3 separate regions of the Homo sapiens genome follow, and regions 2 and 3 are each linked to region 1. The links are contacts of gene promoters, found by promoter capture Hi-C in blood cells and fetal thymus (Javierre and others, 2016). All regions are on one chromosome and are shown on one strand. Each heading gives the region's core, a stretch centred on a gene start or on the middle of the fragment in contact. The rest is flanking DNA. Distances are from core to core; before and after follow the strand shown. Region 1 holds the start of ABHD17B (abhydrolase domain containing 17B, depalmitoylase). Region 2 overlaps CARNMT1 (carnosine N-methyltransferase 1). Region 3 holds the start of C9orf40 (chromosome 9 open reading frame 40).

Region 1 (3,770 bases), core at 741-3,240:
TTGCCAATTAACCTTATTAACACTAGAGTAGGAGAAAAGAGAGGTCAAAATATAGGTGAAGGTGCCATTCATTTCCTTCTGGATTTCAAATGATATGACAATTACTGCACAACAGAGATTTTTACCTCTGCTGTTCCTTAAGTAACACGACCCCTATTCTCCAAATAAAAACTTACCAACAAGTTGAGCAGTCTCAAATTAGAATACTAGCAATCATGACAATTTTCAAAATACTGGCTATCATTAGATGTCACCCAACTGAAATTCATGCTATAAACATATGTAGAGAAACTCTTTACGGAAAAAAGTTCATTTTAATGTAAATTTCCCTGTTAATCTAAACAGATTAACGTTATTACAACATGTATCTGGCTTTCTACTCCGACTCATTAGGTATTATAGTTTCATATGTTGGCACAAGATCTCCAAAGATTTATTAGAGGCATAAAAAAATTCCAAATGAATCATCTATAGATCAAGCATCATATATCACAAAAAGTATTAAACAGGAACACATTTCATAAACAGCGAAATTTAAAGGTCACCCTCTGTATTCCGTTATTCATCCTTTTGCTTACCAAATCTACTTCACACTGACTTAAAGCATCATTTACAAAAAATTCTCTTCTGGCATTGGCAGAGATCTCACCAAAGATCAAAGATCTGAACTTTTTTTTTTTTTAAACAAAAACCCCAGGTTAAATACACTCTTTCCTTCACGAGAGCCCCCACACAGTACAATCTAATTTGACATAACTTTGTTTCGGGGTTAAAAAAAATCCCAAACAAAACCTTTAAATTTTCCAATTCAAAAACGATTCCTGATAAGCCTACCTTAGAGTTCGAAAACAAATAAGATTAAAGCCCAACCATCTAAAGAAAAAGAACCCTACGACAGCCCCACCGGAATACACAAATCGCCAAGCCCCGTGCAGATTCAATCTAAAATCGCGCCCGACAGAGATATAAGGACATTCAGGAGAAAGCTTTTAGGCACCCGCGAATCTCTCAGTGCGCCAGTGAGGGGAATGGGAACCTGACCCCATCTTTTCATCCACTGAGAGAAAAGCAAAGGAAATGAAATGGAACCCTTCTCTTCACCGAGGAGGACCAAAGACCTTCTTAGAGTGTCGGTCGGTCCTCCCTCCCCCACCCCCTGACTCCGGCCGCTCCACGGACCGCAGGGACTGTCCTACCGCTCCCCTTCACGCAACCATCAGAGAATCCTCTCAAAAACACAGACCCGATGAGGAGTGGCTTCCCCGCCTTTCCCCTGTGCCGAGAAGGGATCCCGGTCGCCAACAACAAAGACGCTTCCCGCTCCCCTCCCCCCGCCGGCCCGGGCTCGTCCCTCCCGCGCTGCGGCTCCCGGCCTAGCGCCCCCTCCCCGAGCCGGGCTGCGGCGTCCCCAAACCCCGAGGCCGCACGCACCTGCACCTGAGCGGCCCGGGCCGAAGCGCCGGGCAGAAGGGGTCGAGAGAGAACCGCAGCCGACGCGCTGTCCTCCACAAGGCGAGATCCGCGCTCCGGGCGCCGTCCGACTCTCTCCGCCTGCAGACTGGCCCGACAGAGGAGCGGGGACCAGGGCTACAGCCCCCGGCGCCGGGGCGAAGAAGGACGGCGGCGCCCCAGGGGCCCCGCTCACGCTCCCGAGTCTCGCCTCGCGCCGGCCCTGCTCCTCCACAAGAGCTCGCGTTCTGCTGACTAACGGCCCCGGTGCGGGGCGCTGGAGCGGCCGCCGCTGCCCGTCGGTTGCTCTCGGGCCTCACGTCCCGCGCGGCCGTGGTCGCAGCCGCCGCCGCCACCGCCTCCCTTTCTGGCACTGCAGACGCCACCCAGACCTAGCCAGGTCTTCCTTCTCTTTAATCCTGCTTTCTTTGCTCCTCCTCAGCCTGCCAAGCGCGAGGCTCGTTCCGGTAGCGGGAGGAAGACTGGAGGGGAACGGAGGGGACGAGCACAATCCCCACTGAGCCAGGAGTTGGCCACTGACTGGAGGAAGGTGCCAAAGCTGACCCCGGCTCCAGCCTACTAGCGGGCGGGGGGAGAGACGGAGCCCAGCCTTGCCTCACTTCCACCAATCAGAGGCCGCCCGGCAGGGTGGGAGGCGCTCTGAGCTCAAGGAGAGGCTGAGCTCGCTCAGCAGGAGGCGGGGATTGCGGAAAAGAAGAACCAATAGGAACAAAGGTTCCCCGCCCCTTTGATTTGATGGACTACACATTCGGGCCAATGGGGGAATTCTCATTTCGAAGAAAGTGGGACTTGTTCTCCGGGTTTGAGAAAGAGGCTGCGCGGAGCCGGAGGGGTCGAGGCTGCGCCGCGTGGAGTGGCTTGGCTTAACAGCAGGGAGGGCAGAGCGATGCTCTTTGACCTCCCAGAAGAGTCACGTGGGCTGACCCAGAGCCGGGGCGGAAAGGCTGCGTTTGTTTCTTCCGGGTCATTGACAGAAGCGTCAATTCCTGGGAGTAGTTCGTTGGTTTTCTTTCCCCTCATCCTTTTGCCTGCTCCCGGCGAGGGGTGGCTTTGATTTCGGCGATGAGCTCCCAGAAAGGCAACGTGGCTCGTTCCAGACCTCAGAAGCACCAGAATACGTTTAGCTTCAAAAATGACAAGTTCGATAAAAGTGTGCAGACCAAGGTAGGAACCTGCCTGTTGCACCGTCTTTGACTCCAGGAAGGAATGGCTCACTGGAGAGGGGAGAGAGGAAATGAGAGGAGTCGGCTGGGGCGAGTGTGGACCGCAGCCCAGAGTTAGTCTTGGCTGCAGTGCAACTCTTTCTAAAATGTTATTCTCACGCCCTTTCTTTGACCTGGACATGTTGTCTCCTGGTAAATATTTGATGGTCAGCACACTTAACTAATTGCACAGAGTGAACAGGACCCTAATGAAATCTAAGGTGCAGATGGGGCAGTTACGTCGTTCAGCGTTCCCATCTGGATCACATTAGCAGAGGGAAACGAGGATTGTGGCATGAGTGGCTTTTTCAAATTTTACACCAAGTTTATGCAGCTACGATTTTTTTTTCCAAAAACCCCAAGCCCATAGAGGAAATGTGAATGATTAAGCTGTCTTAGGCTGTCCTCACTAGTATTGTGTGAAATTTCTGTTTTGTAACAATTGTTTTGAAGATAAAAATATTTGGTTAATGTAAAAATACTTGTTTTGCTGTTTATCTTTAGCAGGACTTCTGTAAAGTCCTGCTAAAAAATTCAGACTGTCTAGATAGCCAGAGGACTTGGGTTGTATATAAGTACTAATTTGCAGGCCGGGCGCCGTGGCTCAAAGTGCTGTAATCCCAGCACTTTGGGAGGCCGAAGCGGGTGGATCACCTGAGGTCAGGAGTTCGAGAACGACCTGGTCAACATGGCGAAACTCCATCTGTACTAAAAATACAAAAATTAGCCGGGCGTGGTGGCGGGCGCTTGTAATCTCAGCACTTTGGGAGGCCGAGGTGGTGGGCGGATCACCTGAGGTCAGAAGTTCGAGAACGACCTGGCCAACATGGCGAAACTCCCAATCTGCTAAAAATACAAAAATTAGCCGACGTGGTGACGGGTGCCGGTAATCCCAGCTACTCGGGAGGCTGAGGCAGGGGAATCGCTTGAACCCTGGAGGCGGTGGTTGCAGTGAGCTGAGATCACATCACTGCACTCCTGGGCGACAGAGCAAGACTCCGTCTCAAAAAACAAAAACAAAAAACTACTAATTTGCTCTTTGCTGTGAATCTCTCTCCCTGTCTCCATAGCTGTATGGAGAGAAAATCATTGACAACA
Region 2 (3,770 bases), core at 721-3,220, 3.1 Mb after region 1:
TGAGCAAGTTGCTTACCGCTTTGTGTCTATCCACATCCTCACCTGTAAAAATCAGTTCTAAATCTCAATATTAAAAAATCTCACCCCGTTATTTCTAAAAGTAAGAAGTTTCTGAAAAGACTTTCAGCTTTTCAACTCTAGTGTTTTCTATGTGCTGAGGTGCTTCATTCGTAACAAGACTGGGTTATAAAACTAACATTTTTGCTATTCAATACAAATGAGCTATATCCATTTTTACCTTAATGAGAATGTCATCTAAGCAAAATCTGTGGGAATCACAAAATTGAAACCCATTAGAAAGAGAAAATATTAATCAAAAGACATTCCTTGCTTTATGACCTTTTATCTAAATCTCCTACGTATTAACTAAAAGACATTTTGCAGTAAAATTGAACCCTGCAAAATCTGGACGTACAGCTGACCCTTGAACAATACTTGGGTTGGGGCACCAACCCCCTGTGCAGTCGAAAACCCACACCTAACTTTGATTCACCAAAAACTTAACTACTAATAGCCTACTACTGACCGAAAGCCGTACCAATAACATAAACAACTGACAGATATGTTGTATGTTAATATATTACGTACTATATTCTTACAATAAAGCTAAGAAAATATTAAGAAAGTCGTAGGAAAGGGAAAATACATTTACACTACTGCACTGCATTTATCAATACTATAAGTTTACATAATTTGATTACAAGATGAATCCTCTGTCTGAAATGGGGTTGGGGGGCAACCTCCAACTGCAGACCTCTATCTACAGTACATATCAAACAAATCAACTTTTTCTTGTAATGTCTTTTTTCTCTGCTTCTTGGGAGCACCTGCAGCATCACCAGTGGCACGTCATATGGGACCCATGGTGTTATTTAAGGTTTATGGTATTGCATTAAATTTGATGAAATCTGTTTACTGCTATATGCAATTTACTTGACAGACAAAAGCAGAGTGATTATTTTAAGAAGATACTGGTAACATCTGAGCTTACTGCAAAAGCAACAGGAAGTGGCTACAAAATTATTACAGTAGTACAGTATCTACTACAGATAATTTTATGCAACTAAGATTTAATGCTACATCTTTGCTTGTTTACATTTATCTCAATTGCAAATAGCTCCATGTAAGATCTGTGTTTGTGTAAGTTTTGATAAATTTTAACTTTTTATAATAGATTTGTGTATATTTTATGGTAGTAAATGATAAACTAGTATCTACACATATGCATTCATGGCATAATTTTTTCTTAATTTTTTCACTATTTCTAGGCTATGCAAGTTTGCTAAGTTTTTCAAATTGTTGCAAATGTCAAAACAATTTTCCAATATGTTTATTTCAAAAAATTTGTGTATAAGTGGACCCGTGCAGTTCAGATCCATATTGTTTAAGGGTCAACTGTACTTGCTAAATGTGTAGAACCGGATTGTCCATCACAACCTACTTCGATAATGGAAAAGCTTTTATTTGCACTGTCCAGTACAGCAGACTCTAGCCACATGTAGCTATTGAGCACCTGAAATATGGGTAGTGAAACTGAGCAACTAAATTTTAAAGCTTATTAAATACTAATTAATTTTAGCTTAAATTTATCCAGATATGATTAGTGGCTACAGTTTAAGTCTAGAAGATCACAAAATATTAGAATGTAACAATCCACTGTTCTCTGCTACATAAACTTTCTGTACCCCTAGGCTTTAAGTGACATTTTAAAAAGCATATTTTTGATGTTATACTATTTTCAGCCCAAGTATTTGAAGTGTTTCAAGAGAGTATATACAAATAAAAACTGTTTTTTTTAAAAAATGAAATGTCCTGAATCCAACATTACGCTGGTAAAGAAGAGAGTATAGGAAATAGTATCACAACCACTAGAATATTCACACAAGATCTCTTCTCTATATTGCCACACTTCAGTTCCTGATCAACCCCTACCCCAACAAAGTCCCATCCCATACTTACCCATAAATATCAATTTTAAATTGGTCCTAATATATTAAAAGTAAGTACAACTACGCACTTAACTAAATGGGTCCACCATATTCCCAAGACATTTCCCAATATTCTTTCTAGATTTTTCAAGAGCAAAATGTACCAGACTTTTCTGTATCTCCCACTCTTAGCTATCTGATGTTAGCTGCCTTTCCTAACTTTATGGTTCTTTCCGTCACAATTCCTGCATCAAATTCAATTCTCTGATGGTCTGACGCCTTGCTCCCTCTGTTACTACTAAACCTGGAGAAATAAAATATCCAAACTTCTCTTTTGGGCTCCGTAAAGTAATGCTGTCCCTGGTCCCTATTTCTGGGTTTAATCAGTAAATTATTTCATCAAGATCTTCGAAGTTCAAAAGTTCCTATCACATATACAATCAGATTCCAAATAACTTTAAGCTTTCACTAAGCAAGCTTCTAAATTCAGACTAGTAAACTAATTTAACTATCAGTCAAAAACTTGACAGACTATTTGGGAATGAGAAATGTATTTCTTTGCTACTATTTGTTTTGTTAAAAATAGAGCTTAAACAACATATGCCAAGCACTAGTGACATAAAAATAAAAAAGACTCAGCCCCTGCCCTTGAGGAGGTCACAGCAAAGCAAGAGATTTATAAAAACAACTATAATACATAAGATGAACAATATAAAAAAACTTTGCATAAAGCACAGCAGGAACCCACCTATGGGAACAGGTTTACCTGCGTAGGAGGTCATGTCTGTCTGATTCCAACTGCAGCCTCAGAACATAGTCACCGGTGGACTCATATCTCTTACGTGAATAAAAGTGTTATCTTCACCTGAAAATCCAGTTGATTTAAGTCCCTTTCAGCTCTTGGAATTATAATTTTGTGATTAAGCTACTTTAACATCTATCTAGAAGAAACGTGGAAGTTAGGGAGCTGTTTTTATGAATGAGGAGCATAAAGGTCCTACCACAGTGCCTAGCACACCAGGGAGAATTAGATACAGATTTGCAGAAAAAAAGAACGTAAAGGCAGCTCTTATTGTGACTTCTCTCATCTCTCCTAATAATTAGCAAATTTTAGAATATCCGGACCACTTCCGCCCTTAATCACCCACCAGTTAAAGACACTGAGCAGCATCATTCAATCGCTCACACAAAAGTGCAAGTGCGTTCACAGCGCCAAAGAGGGGTGGGTGGAAATCTTAAACTGCTCTTACAAGCACTGGTAACAGTTTGGGAAAATACGTCCTACAGCATCCCACGCGTAGGTGAACTTGGGCTCTCCGTGTGTTCAGTTTGGAGGACATCGACCACACACACCAATCAGCCCAGCAGTGGACGATTGTACCACCATCGTCTTCTATCTGAAATTGTTACAGCGCTTCTCTGGTCACCCCCATCGGCCTCAAAGCCAAACCTTTACGAGGACGGAGGCAGGAGAGCTAATCTGATCCTGAGGTCAGAAGACACGAGGCTGTGCAGCAGACGGCGCGGCGGACACGCGGGTGTGCAGGGCCGGGAGGGGCTGGGGTGGTGCGAGGTGACTCGGGGCCCGGAGGTCAGCTGCAGCAGCCGGGTCCCGACGCCTCGGAGGCGTGGCGGCGGGACGGCGAGCGCCCCCGTTCCGGCGGGTCCGCCGCCACCAGTGGGCGCCCCGACGGTCTGGGCCGGGGTCCGCCACGGGCTCCTTACCCGTAGTAGCGGAAGGCATTAATGATCTTCCAGAAGTGCTCACGCTCAAGCCTCTCCTCCTCCTCCTCGGTGCTGCGCGTGGCCGCCGCCGCTGCCGCCGAAACCGCCGCGGCCGAG
Region 3 (3,770 bases), core at 428-2,927, 3.0 Mb after region 1:
CCGCCAATGATTCTCATATACGCCTTAAGGCCCAAATTAATTTTCTTTTTTCTTTCTTTTCTTTTCTTTTTTTTTGAGACAGCGTCTCACTCTGTGGCCCAGGCTGGAGTGCACTGGCCCAATCTCAGCTCACTGCAACCGCCATCTCCCAGGTTAAAGTGATTCTTGTGCCTCAGCCTCCCGAGTAGCTGTGATTACGGGCATACACCACCACACCCAGCTAGTTTTTGTGTTTTAATAGAGACAGAGTTTCACCCTATTGGCCAGGCTGGTCTCGAACTCCCGACCTCAGGTGATCCACCCGCCGTGGCCTCCCAAAGTCCTGGGATTCCAGGCGTGAGACACCACGCCCCGCCCCCAAATTAATTTTCAATGATACTTTTGCCTAGGATCAGATTTAACACTATGAGTTAAAACAAAGCTTTGACCAAGGTACGGTGGTCCATCCTTTTCTCCAGAAGCTGTACCAGCCGGTAGGACGTTCAATTAATCAATGGCTACCACACTGGTCTCCCTCTAGAAAAAGAACTCTATCCCGAATTCTAGACTAATCATCGTTAAACCCAGGAAGGCCCTCTACACCTTTATCTGTCGTTTGTCTTTGGGCTGAACCTATGCCCTGACGGTCTGCGTTCTCGCCATGCTCACAGCCCGCCACGACCCACGGTCCCGTTTCCCTTTTACGGAGCGCGGCGCTGACGCCGCAAGGCCACTTCTATCGCTCCCGACCACGGTCTGTTTCCCCCTCGCCCAGCCCAGTGCTTTCTGCCCATCGGACTCTCGGGGTGTGCTTCTGGCGGTCGGCGTCCTCTCCCGGAGCGGTGACCCCTTCTTTCAACCCCCTCAGGCGTCTTAACCTACACAAGTCATGAGTGGGAACCGGGGCGTTTTGTGTGTGTGGGGAAAAGGCAAGCCCCTTCGCCCCTCAGCCCACCCGCCCCCAGCCCCTACCTGGCGCGATGCGACCCCCCAGTCTCCCCGCGGGGGTCCTGCGCGCCCCGCCCCGTCGTCGCCACCGCCCCCCGGGAGCCGGGCGCCCGGGAGCTCCTCCCCCGGCCCCGGCAGTACGGGCGGCGGCGGCAGCGGCGGATCGCCTGTCTCCAGACCGTGGTCCTCACGCTCCTGGCCGCTCGGGGCGCTGTTGTCCCCGCTGTCACGGCGCTTGCTGGGCGAAGCCGAGGGCTCTGCCATGGTCCCTGCGTCGATTTTGCGCTTTCGGTGCTGCTCTGGGACGCCGAGGAGCTGCCCAGCATGCGCGACCCCGGGCGGCCGGATCCAGAGAGGCGGTGGCGGCGGCTGCTCAGCGAAGTCGCAAAGCAGGAGCCGCTTCCAAGGCACGTGGAACGTCACCGGCTCGGCCGCACGCCGCTTGGCCATGGGCCCAGAGGCTCGGGCGGAGCCCGCCAGGCGCGGGAGACCGAGTGCCGATAGCTGCGGGGGGCGAAGAGCGAGGACTGAGCGCGTGAGAGAGGGACAGGCCGAAGTCGGGCGAGGAGGCGACAGGACGCTGGAGGGGGTAGGGCGGGGCAGCTCGCGCAGGGCCTAGGGCTGGGGCTCCGGCTCGGAGGCAGCTCCCGCGCTCAGCCCTCGCCGCCGCCGAGATGCGGCCCGGACGTTGAGAAGCAACCGCGAAGCGGCGGAGATTCGAACCTGCGCACAACGTGCGCGCGCGCACTCTGTCTGGCCAGGCGGAGCCGCTGGTTGGTGGAGGCTCGCGGGGCGCGCTCCCGAGCGCCCTCGCGACCGGAAGTGCGCGCTCGGGGGTAGGCGGGAAGGCCGCGGCGGGATTAATTAAAGACCCGATCAAGCGGCCCGCAGAGGGGCGTGACCTTGTTTCCTCAGGAGTGTGGCGGTGGTCTTACTACTATGTTCGTTATAGCGCGGTACGTTCTAGACCCTTCTATAGGAAATTTAAAACCTTTAAAATGTGTATTTCCTTCCTCCAGTCAGTGACCACGGGGGCGTCTCCATGAGATTAAGACAAAGATTATAATAGAGTTCCAGACTATCCTGGGCAACATAGCAAGACCTCGTCTCTACAAAAAATCAAAAATAGGCCAGGCTTGTTGGCCTGCCCCTGTGGTCCCAGCTACTCGGGAGGCTGAGGAGGAAGATTCACTTGAGCCTGGGAGGTGGAGGCTGTAGTGAGCCAGAGATCGCACCACTACACTGCAGCCTGGGCAACAGAGCGAGATGCCGTCTCAAAAAAAAAAAAAAAAAAAAGGAAAAGGATAATACAAGCTTTAAATAAAACTAGTGTTTAAGAAGCTTCACAGTAGGTTGTTATTCAAAACAAAAGACTGAAGGGAGTCTGGGCTGAGGGAAGTAGCTAAAGCTAACAGAAAACACAAATCGAAGTGTATGTTTTGCATGTTTTGCGCAGCTGCTGTGGAAGGTGAAGCAGGCCCTACATTCCTGGAAGATCTCTTGATTAAAAACTTATGGAGGAAGTTACAGACAAAATGTGCAGCTCATCCAAAATAGCTGAGTAGTTGGCAAGAACCAAGCCTGAAGCGCAGCTGTCCTTTCTAACTGAAACCTAAAATTGTTGGGCTCTTAATTAATGTTGGAAGGCTGAGTTCCCTGCTTACTATGGGCGGTGGTCAGATCAAGATTCTATGGCCATTACAGCAAAATAGTGTTGTCAGGTGAAGTGAGGTGGAGACAATTGCAGTATATTTACTATTTTATTATTTTTATTTTTTATTTTGTTTGAGACAGGGTCTCTCTCGGCCACCTAGGCGGGAGTGCAGTGGTGCCATCACGGCTCACTGCAGCCGGGCCCCACTGAGCTCAAGCGATCTCCTGTCTGGGCCTCCCAAAGTGCTTGGTTTATAGGTGTGAGCCACCGCATCTGGTCGTATTTACTATTTTAATAGTTTGATAAAGACAGTAACCAAGTAAGCAGAAATGGAAGGAAGAAAATAAGACTATTACCAGTGCTTTGAAGGGAAAAACTATCATCCTCTGTAGAAAAAGTGTGCAAGAAAGATAATTCTATTTTAGTGCTAGGTACTATCTCAGTACTAATTTACCCTGTACCCCTGCATCTCAAGGTGGTTGTGAGAGGACAAGTTAATTATTAGTTATTAACAAGCACAGAAATGTACCAAGTTAGGGTAGTAAGCAATAGCTTTTCTGTTTGGTTTTTACTTTTCTTGTTTGAAATTGGTAACCGGCCGGGTGCGGTGGCTCACGTCTTTAATCCCAGCACTTTTGGGAAGATGAGGTGCACAGATCACCTGAGCCCAGGAGTTCCATACCAGCCTGGCCAACATGGTGAAACCCCATCTCTACAGAAAATACAAAAATTAGCCAGAGGTGGTGCCTTGCACCTGTAGTCCCAGGGAGGCTGAGGTGGGAGGATCGCTTGAACCCTGGAGGCAGAGGCCAAGATTGCACCACTGTACTTCCAGCCTGGGTGACAGTGTGAGACCCTGTCTCCAAAAAAAAAAAAATAAATTGAAAACCCGTCTGTCTCAAACAGAGGAAGAGTTTTGCCATTTTTAAATCAGCAGGAAAGATCTTAATCGTAGTCATCAAGTGCTGTTTGAAAGGTTTTGAGTACCCCCAAAATAATAAGTTTAGCTAATGGTTGGTTCTTTTGTGTTCCTCTTTACAAACGCTCATTTTTTCAAAATTGTGAAACTTATCATATATGCAAAAGGTTGTATAAAATACACATGTAGTTAAAAGAATGATAGTAAGACATACAGCATTCTGTTTCAGAAATAGAATACTACCTATACTAGAACATGACAAGCTCCCTA

The links. Contacts are between HindIII fragments. The CHiCAGO score rates a contact against its expected background, and 5 or more counts as called.
Region 2: a contact is called between a fragment that was not itself captured here and the fragment with the promoter of ABHD17B in region 1, in 1 of 17 cell types (total B cells). The highest score is 8.5, in total B cells.
Region 3: the fragment with the promoter of C9orf40 here is called in contact with the fragment with the promoter of ABHD17B in region 1 in 1 of 17 cell types (activated CD4 T cells); the score reaches 7.0 in activated CD4 T cells.

The regions. Positions count from the first base shown.
Region 1 is chr9:71,909,203-71,912,972 of GRCh38, forward strand. It overlaps ABHD17B (abhydrolase domain containing 17B, depalmitoylase), which reads right to left and starts at 1,991. Exons shown (of 4, transcript NM_001025780.3): 1 at 1,432-1,991. C9orf85 (chromosome 9 open reading frame 85) reads left to right here and starts at 2,437. Exons shown (of 4, transcript NM_182505.5): 1 at 2,437-2,634. The coding sequence starts at 2,533. RefSeq lists a silencer at 1,515-1,754 and enhancers at 2,205-2,514, 2,585-2,634, 2,645-2,704. The HindIII fragment of the contact is 4,051 bases long and covers 985-3,770 here.
Region 2 is chr9:75,024,359-75,028,128 of GRCh38, forward strand. It overlaps CARNMT1 (carnosine N-methyltransferase 1), which reads right to left. Exons shown (of 8, transcript NM_152420.3): 1 at 3,654-3,770. Among named protein-coding and RNA genes, the nearest start is that of CARNMT1, 2.0 kb to the right of the region's middle. RefSeq lists an enhancer at 2,767-2,816 and a silencer at 3,467-3,770. The HindIII fragment of the contact is 836 bases long and covers 1,553-2,388 here.
Region 3 is chr9:74,951,235-74,955,004 of GRCh38, forward strand. It overlaps C9orf40 (chromosome 9 open reading frame 40), which reads right to left and starts at 1,678. Exons shown (of 2, transcript NM_017998.3): 1 at 952-1,678. The coding sequence starts at 1,377. It overlaps CARNMT1-AS1 (CARNMT1 antisense RNA 1), which reads left to right and starts at 1,731. Exons shown (of 5, transcript NR_121183.1): 1 at 1,731-1,883. RefSeq lists an enhancer at 570-639 and silencers at 970-1,179, 1,450-1,659. The HindIII fragment of the contact is 1,820 bases long and covers 420-2,239 here.